Regions from separate parts of the Homo sapiens genome. Here region 2 is linked to region 1. Evidence: promoter capture Hi-C in 16 types of primary human blood cells and fetal thymus (Javierre and others, 2016). All regions are on one chromosome and are shown on one strand. The core of a region is centred on a gene start or on the middle of the fragment in contact, and the rest is flanking DNA. Distances in the headings are between cores, read along the strand shown. Region 1 holds the start of PLEKHA5 (pleckstrin homology domain containing A5). Region 2 has its middle 130 kb from the start of CAPZA3.

Region 1 (6,360 bases), core at 984-3,483:
CTAGGAAGTGTCACCAAAAAGAAGGCAGAACTTCCTAACTACTTAATTAATGGAAAAGAAATGACACCGAATACTTCCGTGTGTGTTTCTAAAAATTTGACTAAGAGACGTGAAGTTTCAAGTAGTAAAGTTGGGGATGATTCAGGTGAACAATGGTCATTATGTGCTACATATTATTATTAATGACAAGTTGTTTGGATTTCATCAAAATGCCTCTTGGAAGTAAAAACAACCGATGTGTGTACAAAACCAGAGTCCAAGCAAAGTAAAACCAAACCAGAAAAAAAAAAAAGTGAAATCACATAAAAGAATAAAATTTTTCTGTGGCGTGAATGTTACCAAATCTGTGGGGTTAACTAGGACACTTATTTATATCACTCATAATTCCATAGGATAATTAGTCTAAATAATTTAAATGTCATATCGTCTTTCATGAAATAAATCTATCATTATCCATAAAAGCAAAGAGGCCATCAAAGTTGGAATATGCGTGTAAAACACCAGAAAGGTATATTGAAGCAAAAGCCTGCACCGGGGAATTGAGAAACATGATAGTGTATTAGTCAGAAATGCCTTAAAAATGTAAGCTCATCATGCTTGCTACACCAGCCTTTCCTTTCTTCCTCCACCTTTTTGCAAATTTGGAGACATTAGTCACTTCAGTGAACTCCAGCATTTCACAGAGAGGCAGGTTTGTTCAATATCCTGGCAACTTTAACAGATTCACGGAATGTCAGAGTCCGAGAGAATGTACCCCAGAGGCCAGCTCTGAGGACTGCTGAAACTGGCCTCGCCTTCGACCCAAACTGCTCTCAAGCCTTTCCAATCACCAGGACTAGAGGCAGGCCAGTAAGAGAACACATGTTACATTTCAAAGACAAACAAGTCACGAATGTAAACAAAGAATGATAAAAGAAACCCAGACCAGTACAGAAACTACGAGGAGCCTTTTCCAGCTCCACTCACACTTAGCATTCAAACAAGCTCCCAAAGCCACCCGAGAGAGCCGCTTCCCCACGGACTCCCTCCAAACAGGGCCCGGGTGCCCCCATACGGGACACCCCCTCGCACGCCCACCGCCTCCTGGCAGTCTGTGCAACCTCCGTGCGGCTGGCGGGGACTTTAGATCCGGATCGCCAGCAACTGAGGCTGCGAACGCCTCCTCCGGCTCCGGCTGCTCCTCCCGTGGCAGGAGGGAACGCGCCAAGCGTTTCCCGAGCCGTTCCCTGTCACAGAGAGGATCGCAGCACCCCCGAACTCCTCTCCTCCTCCTCCTCCTCCTTCATCAGCCACCTACCCACAAGTCCCACCTAGGAGGAGGAAGCTGCACGGCAGGAGGCAGCGCTCCTGGGAGGAGGGGGAGGATGTGGTTACGTTATCCCGGCGGGCGATCGGGGTCCGGGGCTGCAGGGAGGGGAGTGGGTAAGGACTGCCTGAAGATTGCTGGGGGGCAAGACGGCAGCTGGGGGTCACCGGGGAGTGAGTAGCGGCCGCGGAGGAAAAACTCAGGACTCCAGGTTTCAGGGAGGGGAGCGTCGCCACTCTAGGGTCGCGAGGGTCGTCTAGGCTGGGATGGGGGGAGAAGGCGCAGGAAGAGGGCGCCGTCTCCAAGTGCTGATGAAAGGCTGAGGAGAAAGAGGCGCCCCGAGACTGGAGAGAACTCCCGGCGGCGGAGTCCCCGTGGCCCCTCTACCTGCGGCCGCTCCCGCCCGGCCTCCGCCCCGCCTCGCCGCCTCCCGGGGCCCGCGGCGCGGGGCAGGTTGCGGGGAGCCGGGCGGCCCGGGCTCTGCCGCCTCCTCCAGGCGGAGCCCAACTCCGTTTGGGCCCGGCGTTACCTGTGCTCTGCCGCCGGTGTCCGGTGACCACCGCCTCGCCGGTGACGGGGTGCAGCCAGGTGGTGCTCTTGGCCTCCTCGCTGCAGGGGTGAGAGAAGGGGCAGACACGGAGCGTGAGAGGGGACGCGGGGGCGAGCCGAGGGGCTGCAGGAGCACAGACCCGGGCTCTCCCCCGTGTCGCCAGCCGCCCGCCTCCTGCCCTCCCGCCCCCGCGGGCCCCCGTGCCGTCCCCGGCTCTTTACTTGATGAAGAAGACTCGGCCGCCCCTGGTGATCCCGTAAGTCCAGGACCGGGGCAGGGAGATCCACTCCAGGTTCAGATCCGCCGCCATGTCTGATCCCTAGCCGCCGCCGCCGCCTTCTCCTGCTGCCGCCGCGGCTGCCGAGGGAGGAGGGAACGAGCGAGCGAAGGGAGCGCGGAGCGAGCGCGCCTCCCCGGCCCGGCGCGCCCCCGCGCGCGCCCTACCCCCTCGGGCGGTGCCCGCCCCGCCGCCCCGGCAGGGTCCGGCCCCCGTCGCCGCCCCTCCGCATCCCGGCGGCCGCCGGCCGGCCGCCCCGCCGCGCGCTCGGGGGATGGGCAAGCGGCGCCGCGCCCCAGACCCCTCCCTCGGGCCCCTGCGGCGCGCCCGCCCCCTCCGCCGCGCGAAGGTTCCGGGATCGATTAAAAAAAAAAAAAAAAAAAAAAAAAAACGCGTCCTGCCCCCAGGGCTTTGCCCGAAGGCTTCCCATCCCAGGGCGCGATCAAAGGGAGCCTAATAATGCCCAAGCCCCTGATTTCTCTCTTTCAAACAACAAAAACACAGCGTCTGAGCTTTGTTTTATAAGAGCTGTTGGAGAGCCAACAGATTTTTCCAATATATTTATCGTTTTAAAATGGAAAGCTGTTTTTATTAAAGCACACGAAAGGCCTTTCCTGTTTGTTTGTTGTGTGCCAGATATCAAAGGTTGGACGTGATACGTGGCCCCATGAAATATGAGTGGATTTAGACTTGACAAAACAAGTTTTTTCTCTTCCTAGGCCCCTTAGGTCATATCTTATAAAATAAAAACTCGTCTTTTTCTGGTACTTGTTTTTAAAGATTCACTTAACATCAGTGTGGATTTTTACTTGCCCTGTCTCCAATAGATTACAATAATAGCTTATTTTATGGAGTCCTTGTGACGGTGTACATTTTTAAATCTTCACAACAACTATATATATATGTGTGTATATATATATATGTGTGTGTGTGTGTGTATATATACACACACACACACAATCTATAAAAAATCCCCATTTTACAGATAGGAAAAATGAAGTTTAAAAACACAGTAGTTTGCCCAGTCATAGTAATAACTGCCAAAGCCTGGATTCAAACTGGCTGTAGGATTTCAAAAGTATATTTGTATAACCTCCTTGCTGTACAAGCCCACTTTGTTTTACTGCGATTCACTTTATTGCTGTTTGCAGATCTTTCACATCTTACAAATTGAAGGTTTGTGGCAACTCTGCATTAAGCAAGTCCTAGCACCGTTTTTCAACAGCATTTGCTCACTACATGTCTCTGTGGCACATTTTGGTAATTCTTGCAATCTTTCAAACTTTTTCATTATTGTACCTGTTATAGTGATCTGTAATCAGTGATCTTTGATGTTACTGTTGAAATTGTTTTGAGGGCACCATGAACTGAGCCCATGTAAGACAGGGACTTAATAAATGTGTGTGTTCTGACTGCTCCACCAACCAGCTGTTCCTCTGTCTCTCTGCTTCATCTTGGGCCTCCATATTCCCTGAAATGAAACACTAATAATTGTCTAATAATAATGGCCTAATATTGAAATTAGGCCAACCAGTAACCCTACAATGCCCTTTAAGTGACCAAGTGAAAGGAAGAGTTGCATGTCCCTTACTTTAAATGAAAAGCTAGAAACGATTAAGCTCAGATGTATCAACAGCCAAGAGAGGCCAAAAGCTCGGCCTTGTGTCAAATAATTAGACAAGTTGGGAATGCAAAGGAAATGTTCTTGAAGGAAATTGAAAATGCTACTCTGGTGAAAACATGAATTATAAGAAAACAAAACAGCCTCATTGCAGATAGGGAGAAAATTTTAGTGGTCTGGGGAGAAGATCAACCTAGCTACAACATTCCCTTTAGCCAAAGCCTAATCCAGAGCAAGGCTCTAACTCTCTTCAATCTTATGAAGGTTGAGAGAGCTGAGGAAGCTGCAGAAGAAAAGGTTGAAGCTATCAGGGATTTAAGGAAAAACACCATCTCCGTAACATAATAGTGCAAGATGAAGCAGCAAATGATGTAGAAGCTGCAGCAAGTTATCCAGAAAATCTAGTCAAGATCATTGAAGGTGGATACACTAAACATATTTTCAATGTAGACAAAACAGCCTACTATTGAAAGAAGATGCCATCTAGGACTTTCACTGCTAGAGAGGAAAAGTCAATGCCTGGCTTCAAAGCTTCAAAGGGCAGGCTGACTTTTTTGTTAGGAGATAATGCAGCTGGTGATTTTAGGTTGAAGCCAATTCTCATTGACCATTCCAAAAATTCTAAGACCCTTAAAAATTATGCTAAATATACTCTTCCTGTGCTCTATAAATGGAACAACAAAGCCTAGATGACAGCACATCTGTCATGGCTGACTGAACATTTTAAGTCTGCTGTTGAGACCTACTGCTCAAAAAAAAAAAAAAAAAAAGAAAAGAAAAAGTGATTCCTTTCAAAATATTTCTGTTCATTGACAGTGTACCTGTTTACCCAAGAGTTCTCCTGGAGACATACAAGAGATTAGTGTTGTTTTCATGTTGGCTAACCCAACATGCATTCCACAGTTCATGGATCAAGGAGTCATTGTGACTTTCAAGTCTTATTATGTAGAAAGTACATTTCATAAGGCTATAGCTGCCAGAGATAGGGGGTCCTTGGATGGATCTGGAAAAAGTAAATTGAAAAAATTCATAATTCTAGATGCCATCAAGGACATTTGTGACTTAAGGAAGGAAGCCAAAAGATCAACATTATCAAGAGTTTGGAAGAAGTTGATTCCAACCCTCATGGATGAGTTTGAGGGGTTCAAGACTTCAGTGGAGGCAGTAACTAGAAATATGGAAATAGCAAGAGAACTAGAATTAGAGATAGAGCCTGAAGATGGGGCTGAAATGCCACAATCTCATGGTAAAATTTGAAGGGATGAGGAGTTGCTTCTTATGGATGAGCAAAGAAAGTGATTTCTTGAGAGGGAATCTATTCCTGGTGAAGATACTGTAAATATTGTTGAAATGACAACAAATAGTTTAGAATATAATATAAACTTAGTTGATAAAGTAGTGGCAGGGTTTGAAAGGATAGATTCCAATTTTGAAAGAAATTATACTGTGTGTAAAATGCTGTCAAACAGTATCACATGCTACAGAGAAATCCTTCATGGAAGGAAGGGTCAATCGATGCAGCAAACTTCTCTATTGTCTTTAAGAAACTGCAACAACTGCTCTTACCTGCATCAACACTAGCCTGACTGGTCAGCAGCCTTCAACAACATTGAGGCAAGATCCACCAGCGAAAAGATTAAGACTTGCTGGAGACTCAGATGATCCATTAGCATTTTTTAACCATTAAAGTTTTTTTTTTGTTGTTGTTGTTGTTTTTGAGATGGAGTCTCACTTGGTTGCCCAGGCTGGAGTGCAGTGGCACAATTTCAGCTCACTGCAACCTCCATCTCCCAGGCTCAAGCAATTTTCCTGTCTCAGCCTGCCTAGTAGCTGGGACTACAGGTGCGCATCACCATGCCCAGCTAATTTTTGTATTTTTATTAGAGACAGGGTTTCACCATGTTGGCCAGACTGATCTGGAACTCCTGACCTCAGGTGATCCACCTGCCTTGGCCTCTCAAAGTGCTAGGATTACAGGCGTGAGCCACCGCGCCTGGCTAAAGTATTTTTTAAATTAAGGCATGTACGTTTTTTAGCCATAATGCTATTGCACACTTAATGGATTACAGTATAATAAATATAACTAATATATGCACTAGGAACCAAAAAAATGGTGTGACTCACTTTATTGCTATGTTCACTTTATTGTGCTGGTCTAGAAATGAACCAGCAGTGTCTCCTAGGTATGCCTGTAGTTAAAAAATAAGTCTTGTTGGCTGGGCGCGGTGGCTCACGCCTGTAATCCCAGCACTTTGGGAGGCCGAGGCGGGCGGATCACGAGGTCAGGAGATTGAGACCATACTGGCTAACATGGTGAAACCCCGTCTCCACTAAAAATACAAAAAATTCTCCGGGCATGGTGGCGGGCGCCTGTAGCCCCAGCTACTCCGGAAGCTGAAGCAGGAGAATGGCATGAACCCGGGAGGCGGAGCTTGCAGTGAGAGGAGATCGCACCACTGCACTCCAGCCTGGGCGACAGAGCTAGACTCCGTCTCAAAAAAAAAAAAAAAGAAAAAAGAAAAGAGAGTCTTGTCTCCCTTCCTCCTGCTTTTGTTCGTTGAACAAGGGCAGATTTCACTGCGACTGGGATCTTCTCCCTTAATGCC
Region 2 (6,360 bases), core at 2,241-4,740, 260 kb after region 1:
GAAGGGAAAAATATATACCAAATATTGTCAGATCACACTCCCTTACATTTTTATAATTTATGTCTTTGAGATAGTACTTTTAAACACAAGCTATTGATTTTGGATCAATAAGAGTTTAAAACTGTAAGCTAAACACATGTTTGCCATCCTGGTTAAAAGAGTAAGTATAGTTAGAGATTCTTTACTTAGTTAGAGTAAGATTCTCTACTTAGAGTAAGATTCTTTACTTAATCCTGAAACTAATTTGATGTGTCTTTTGGAGAGTTCTTTCTAACTAACTCACAATATGTCGTTACAATCCTTAGTAAAAATGGGCTAAATGCGCAAACTTAACTTTATTGAACATGGTATTATTTAAAATATGAAAATAACTTTTACATTCTTGAAAAAATAAAACATATACTTTATGATTAAGTGTAATACCTCTGAAACATAGAGAAAATATAACCAAATTCATAATATGTTTACAAAACTGAAATTTACCTAAGAATTTTTGTATTTTACTTCTAGAATAAAAGAGTTTGTATTTCAAAACAACAGTCTTATTAGGCTCATGTCTAACTTAGAACAAACTATTGCAAATTATTTCTATTTCTCTAAGTCTGAGCTTTGCAGGCTCATTTTTTTTTTTTTTTTGGACAGAGTCTCACTGTGTCATCCAGGCTGGAGTGCAGTGGTATGATCTTGACTCATTGCAACCTCCACCCCACAGGTCCAAGTGATCCTAGTGCCTCAGCCTCCTGAGTAGCTGGGATTACAGGCGCCCGCCACCATGCCTGGCTAATTTTTGTATTTTTAGTAGAGATGGAGTTTCACTATGTTGGCCATGCTAGTCTTGAACTCCTGACTTGAAGTGATCCGCCTGCCTTGGCCTCCCAAAGTGCTGGGATTACAGAGGTGAGCCACCATCCCCAGCCAGGTTCAATATTCTTTAGATTTTTATCAGATAATTATAGCAGAGTAGCAACTAGAGCCTCAAAAATAAAACACTGCTCTCTATTAGTTGCTAGGACATAGGGCATTTTCTAATAATGTCCACACTCTATGTAGGCATTGATGTTCATCAAGGTTATATTTGAAGATAATAAGAATGAGGACTGTGGAACAACTTAAGAAAGATTTTTATGTCACCAGGGAAATGGCTTTAGAAACTGAGTGCCACTGTGTACATTATTAATGAATGATATGGCTTACCATCAAAGTATCACTCATAGACTTCTAATCTTTTATCAAAACCAACAACATTTACTTGTAACTGAAGTAGTTTTATAAAAAAATGTTTATGACCCAAGGATGATCACAAAAGACTTAGTGTTTCTACTCCTTTCTTCTCTAAGTATAAAGCCATAAGAAATTCCACTTCTTCAGCAGCAACTGACTGTTCCCTGCAGTTCATCAAGTGTGAATGACTTTATTGGACCACTTTAAAAACGAGAGTTTTCAAGACTCTGTAGGACTTCCAAATCCCATGGGTATTTAACAGGAAAGGGAGTCAGTGACTGAATTATCTACGGCAGTACTTCAGTTCTCTCATCCTCATTTTGGAGCCCCGGCTTCTAAAACTGTCTCTGTCATTTCTTCCCTTGTGCTTTATTCACTCTGACAGTCTGGGTCAGAGTGATGAAGAATGATTGAAAGTGTCTCCAACTCGCGCCAGGTGAACAATGTTCAAAGTAGTTGGCAAGAAGACATTATGCATTTCTGAAAATATCAAGACTCGCAGGAAAAGCTTCAGCCTTGGGATAGTAGGGCAAAGGTCATATTAGGCTTGGTTTCATGCATAGTGACAGTCATAGACACTCGTAGACATCCAGGAAGAACACATTAAGTGAAAGACTTATTGAATGAAGTTAATACACATTGAAAACAGGATGCTAGTATATCTTGCTGCTTTGATGACAGATAAAAGTAAAGCATTTTTGGCTGTCAAAGCATCTGAACAGTCTTTAAGAATTTTACTCAGAGACTAAATCTTCAAACCAGAAGTCGAAAACTTACTAAAAAAAATTTGCAAACTGAAATAAGGAACTAGTGTAGGTTGGCTTAAAAAAATAGTTGTACACTGAGTGAGTATCAAAGTCGTAGTTACAGAAATGACTAATGAAATTACTACCACAATAACACAGAATTGAGCCTGGAAAATATCCAGGAAGACTTGATTACAGTACATATCCTTTATATACTTCTGTACAGCCTAGCTTGGCCTCTTTTATATTCAGATATTTACTTCTGGATGAGATTCACTTGTGCTTTTTTTTTTTGACTTGTCCTCACATTGCCTGTTAGATTCCCTTAAAGGGCCAAGGTGCCCTTCTTCAACACACTCAGACAAAGAAATCTTTTATAAGATCTTAGGCTGCAAATAAAATCTCCTTTACCCCACTTTCCTTTGGGTTGGCTGTACTGACATCCTTCAACTCCTCCCTGTAAATCCCTTCCCTCCCCTTCCTTAGAAATATTATACAGGCCTATTACCTTCCAACCAAATGTACTGGAAGGAATTGTTCAAAGCAAAAGGTGCATGAAGAGAAGGATCATTATGTATACTGATACCTATAGACTGTGCTTGGGGTGAACAAAGAAACTGAATGCATAAGCAAAAAAAAAAAAATGTTTTTGATGTGGCATTTTAGTGGAAGCTTCACTTGCAATTACGGGACATTAAAGGGCTAAATAATTATTGCCATTATTAATAATAACACCACCCAAACAACCAGTCACTCTGACCCAGTCATCTGGAAGAATCAGGGCACCCTCTTATCTAATTAGTACTTTGAACTTTTATCCACAATACAAACGAATGTGAACTTATCAACTTTTTAAATTTTAGGGAATGCTAGGTGGCAATTGTAACATCAGAAATTCCATTAAGGATTAAGATTGCTAAACTTTTTTTCTTCATAAGTAAAATAAGATTATTTTGTAACCAATGTTATGTCTCCCTCTTAATGAAAACTTTCTCAGAATTTGGGGTAATGACGATGTCAATGATAATAATAATAACAGTAGCTCCTACTTAGTAAATACTTCATATGTATGAAACACTAGGGCGCCATTGCACTCCAGCCTGGGTGACAGAGCAAGACGGTCTCAAAAAACAAACAAACAAACAAACAAACTATAGGTTATTTACATACATTGTTTCATTTATTTTTATAATTACCAGTCCTCAAAGTAGATATTATTCCCATTTTACAAGGGAAAGTTGAGGCTTAATGAGTTTAACTTTCCCAAGGACACTTAATTAATGAATAGAAGAATGGGGAATCCCAATATAGGACTGATGGTAAACCTATCCTTTTGGTTATGTTGCTGTTCTCTCTCTCTGTGTCTCTGTCTCTCTGTGTGTGTATTGTCCATATAAAGAACCCAGTTGATTATGAAATGCAATTAGAAGCTGTTATTTTTGGGACTCTTGCCATGGCTGGAGTAGGCTTGAATTTAAGAGACACAACTCTTGCCACTGATTAGTTTCTGGCAGCACTCTCATGCCTGGGAAGGGTGTCATCAACCAGTTGATCATGTCAGCTGGAGTAACTAGTAGTCGCTAATAAGGACCTTTCCCCAAGCATCTATATCTGAGAATTTCAGAGATTCACAAATGCAATTAAGAAATGTCATTATGTAGTTACATAAATGTTTAATTTTTCCACCCATATGTTTACATTTTGAATATTTTTGAATATTTGAATATTTTCTATAAGCCATGCATTGTTTTAATTTCTAAGAATGGTTACATTTTCTGTATGATGAAAAAGCTAATGCACAGAGAGTTTAAGCAGGTTGCTCTCCAGTGTACAGATGACAAATGGCGGTGCTAGGATTATAATCAGATACCCTGAGTGCAGAGTCCATGGCCTTCTTCGTGACGGAGACATTGCTAGATGCTGGGGGGCACTATGGTGAAAAGGATTCTCTAACCCTTATGAACATAGAAGAGAGAGATATAAGTAAACAATTCTCTGCTTTAGTTCACAAATACTGATGAATTTTCTAGATCAGAGTTTCCATGAACAATAGAAACCAGGAGAAACCAGGTTGTGAGGAAACTTTTTTCCTTGTTAAGAATTTCATTATTAATAACAGAGTCCTTGAGGACTGGTCATAACTAATAGAGGCTAGGCTGACAATTAATGCTTGCTTTATTCATGCCTTTAATCTTGGTTTGAAATACTACACCTGGATAGTTTATGTCAAAACAAGAATTTTAAAGCCAGAATACTTAGCTTAGAATAGTGTCTTATAGATATCCACTTTGTGTTGATGTTTTTCTAAATCTATTCTTCACATATAGAATTTAAATTAAGACTGCTTGTATAACCCTGGTAAAATGAAGCTTGTACATCTTCTATTAATATTCTTAAATGAGATACTCTTATGAGGTCAAATGAAGTGCTAACATGAAAAAAATCTGAGCTAAAAGTCAGATTACACATCAAGACATATGGTATAGATGATTGGATAAAGGCAGAAGTTATTGCTTCATTTATTTGTTTTTCTTTTTTAAAACTCATGCTGTTCCATAAAAGATTTGAAATGACTTACAACAAAAACGCATATACAAATATGTTAAGAAAAATAGGATTTCAATAAAAATATTGAGTAAATACAATTTAGAAGAGTAACGTAAAAATCATAGGAAGAATTAAGTAGAGTTTGAGATAATTATATGTGAGTCAGTTCTTAAATTGCTATGTATGAAAAAGTAAGAACTTCCACTCCTGCATTAACTACTTTGGGTATCTCCACTAGACAATTTGTCTGGGTAGATGCAGGCTTCCCTGGGCATCCCTGTATAATTTTTAGCGTATCTGTTTTTCACAGATATGAAAAGCAGAAGCCTGTTTATTCATAGAACAAAAGCTGGGTAGATATAAAATCAGGAGATGATGTCACAGTCTTAATCTCTATAGACTGAATTTGATGATTTTCCATTGGAAACTTTATTGTGATTGGCTTGGAGTGCATTAGCAACATAAATGTAAGGAGCTACAATGCATTTGACTGTACTGGACATTTTATCACTCACACCCTCCTACCTACCTGCCTCACTATGACCCAAAAATTCAGCCGCCAGGCTGGCGGGACTTGGGAAGCCACCTGTGATCACGAATGGAAGCAGTCTATGTTCCTGCAGTACAATCAGCAGGCAACTACTTATTATGGTTGTTGTTATTATTATTATTTTTGAACAGAACAAGAAAGAAGGAGGAGATGAGGAGGAGAATGGGAATAGGGTGGAGATGGCAGATGTCACAGGGGAGAACGAAGAGAAGGAAAATACCAGATGGAGGGGAGAAACATTTAAAAAAGAGAACTGAGAGAAAGAAAGAATGAGAGAGAAATTTACAGGAAAGAAGCAGGTTTGAGTAGAACCAGAGACAGAATCAATATAACATTTTTCCTTGTCCTGGTATGACCCAGCTAATTCCCGATGGATGCCAACTTGTTCATTTATGGGATGCTGCAGGAGGGCAAGCAACAAGATATCCGAGGTCACTCTCAGTCACTCTTCAGTAACCCTCTAACCTCTAAGAACCCGAAGGCAGCTGTGTCCACTGTGGAGCAAACCCTGGGGGAGGAGGAAAACTGTCTCAGTGTGTTGGTGACTCATTCTGGTGCTGATTTGGCCTTATGAAAGTAATTTAGCTCCACTGGGCTGAACCTAGTCATAATTAATAACAGGATACCTGGTTATACAGTGGGTCCAGTATTACCAACAAAGTGTTGCCTGAGGCAGAGGCAGAGAAGAAACAGAGAAGAAAACAAAAGGAAAGCAAGAGCAGACGATGGCTTCCAGTATTCTTCAGGCTGTAGAGACCCTGTGAAGGTTTCTGGATACATATGTATACAATTGAGGTTTAAAGGAACTAACATTTCAGGGTCTATTACGTATCAAACAGAGTGCTGGATGCCTTTTCCATGTAACTCATGTAATCCACCCAGCAGTCTTGTGTAGTAGCTGTTATTATCCCCCTTTTACTGAGGTTAGGAAAATAGCTTGCTTGGTATAAGCAGGTTTAAACTCAGGTCTATATAACTTGAATCCTAGCACATGTTTTTAACTTCAAAATAATCATACAGTCTAGGTGACACTTAAAGAGATGTAGTTTGCTTATGTATTTAAAAGCAAGTAGCCATTACCTTCTACCAGAGCCTCCTTCTCTCTTTTCTGGTTCTCACTTTGTCTTAAAATCCTAATGTATTAATTTGTGCTTCAGCCTTACAATATACTAAATGATTTTGTAGTGGGAAGAAAATGGAAGGAAATGGATTTTGAAGGCAGAGAAATCTGGCCTCAAATTTGATTTTCACAGTTCATTAGCCATATGATCTTAGGAACCTGTACAATGGGATTAA

The links. The method cuts DNA at HindIII sites, captures the fragments that hold promoters and counts their contacts. A CHiCAGO score of 5 or more calls a contact.
Region 2: a contact is called between a fragment that was not itself captured here and the fragment with the promoter of PLEKHA5 in region 1, in 3 of 17 cell types (M2 macrophages, M0 macrophages and megakaryocytes). The highest score is 7.5, in M2 macrophages.

What each region holds. Positions count from the first base shown.
Region 1 is chr12:19,125,606-19,131,965 of GRCh38, reverse strand. PLEKHA5 (pleckstrin homology domain containing A5) reads right to left here and starts at 2,233. Exons shown (of 32, transcript NM_001256470.2): 1 at 2,078-2,233; 2 at 1,836-1,915. The coding sequence starts at 2,166. The HindIII fragment of the contact is 7,873 bases long and covers 1-4,287 here.
Region 2 is chr12:18,864,606-18,870,965 of GRCh38, reverse strand. No RefSeq gene overlaps it. Among named protein-coding and RNA genes, the nearest start is that of CAPZA3, 130 kb to the right of the region's middle. The HindIII fragment of the contact is 1,697 bases long and covers 2,642-4,338 here.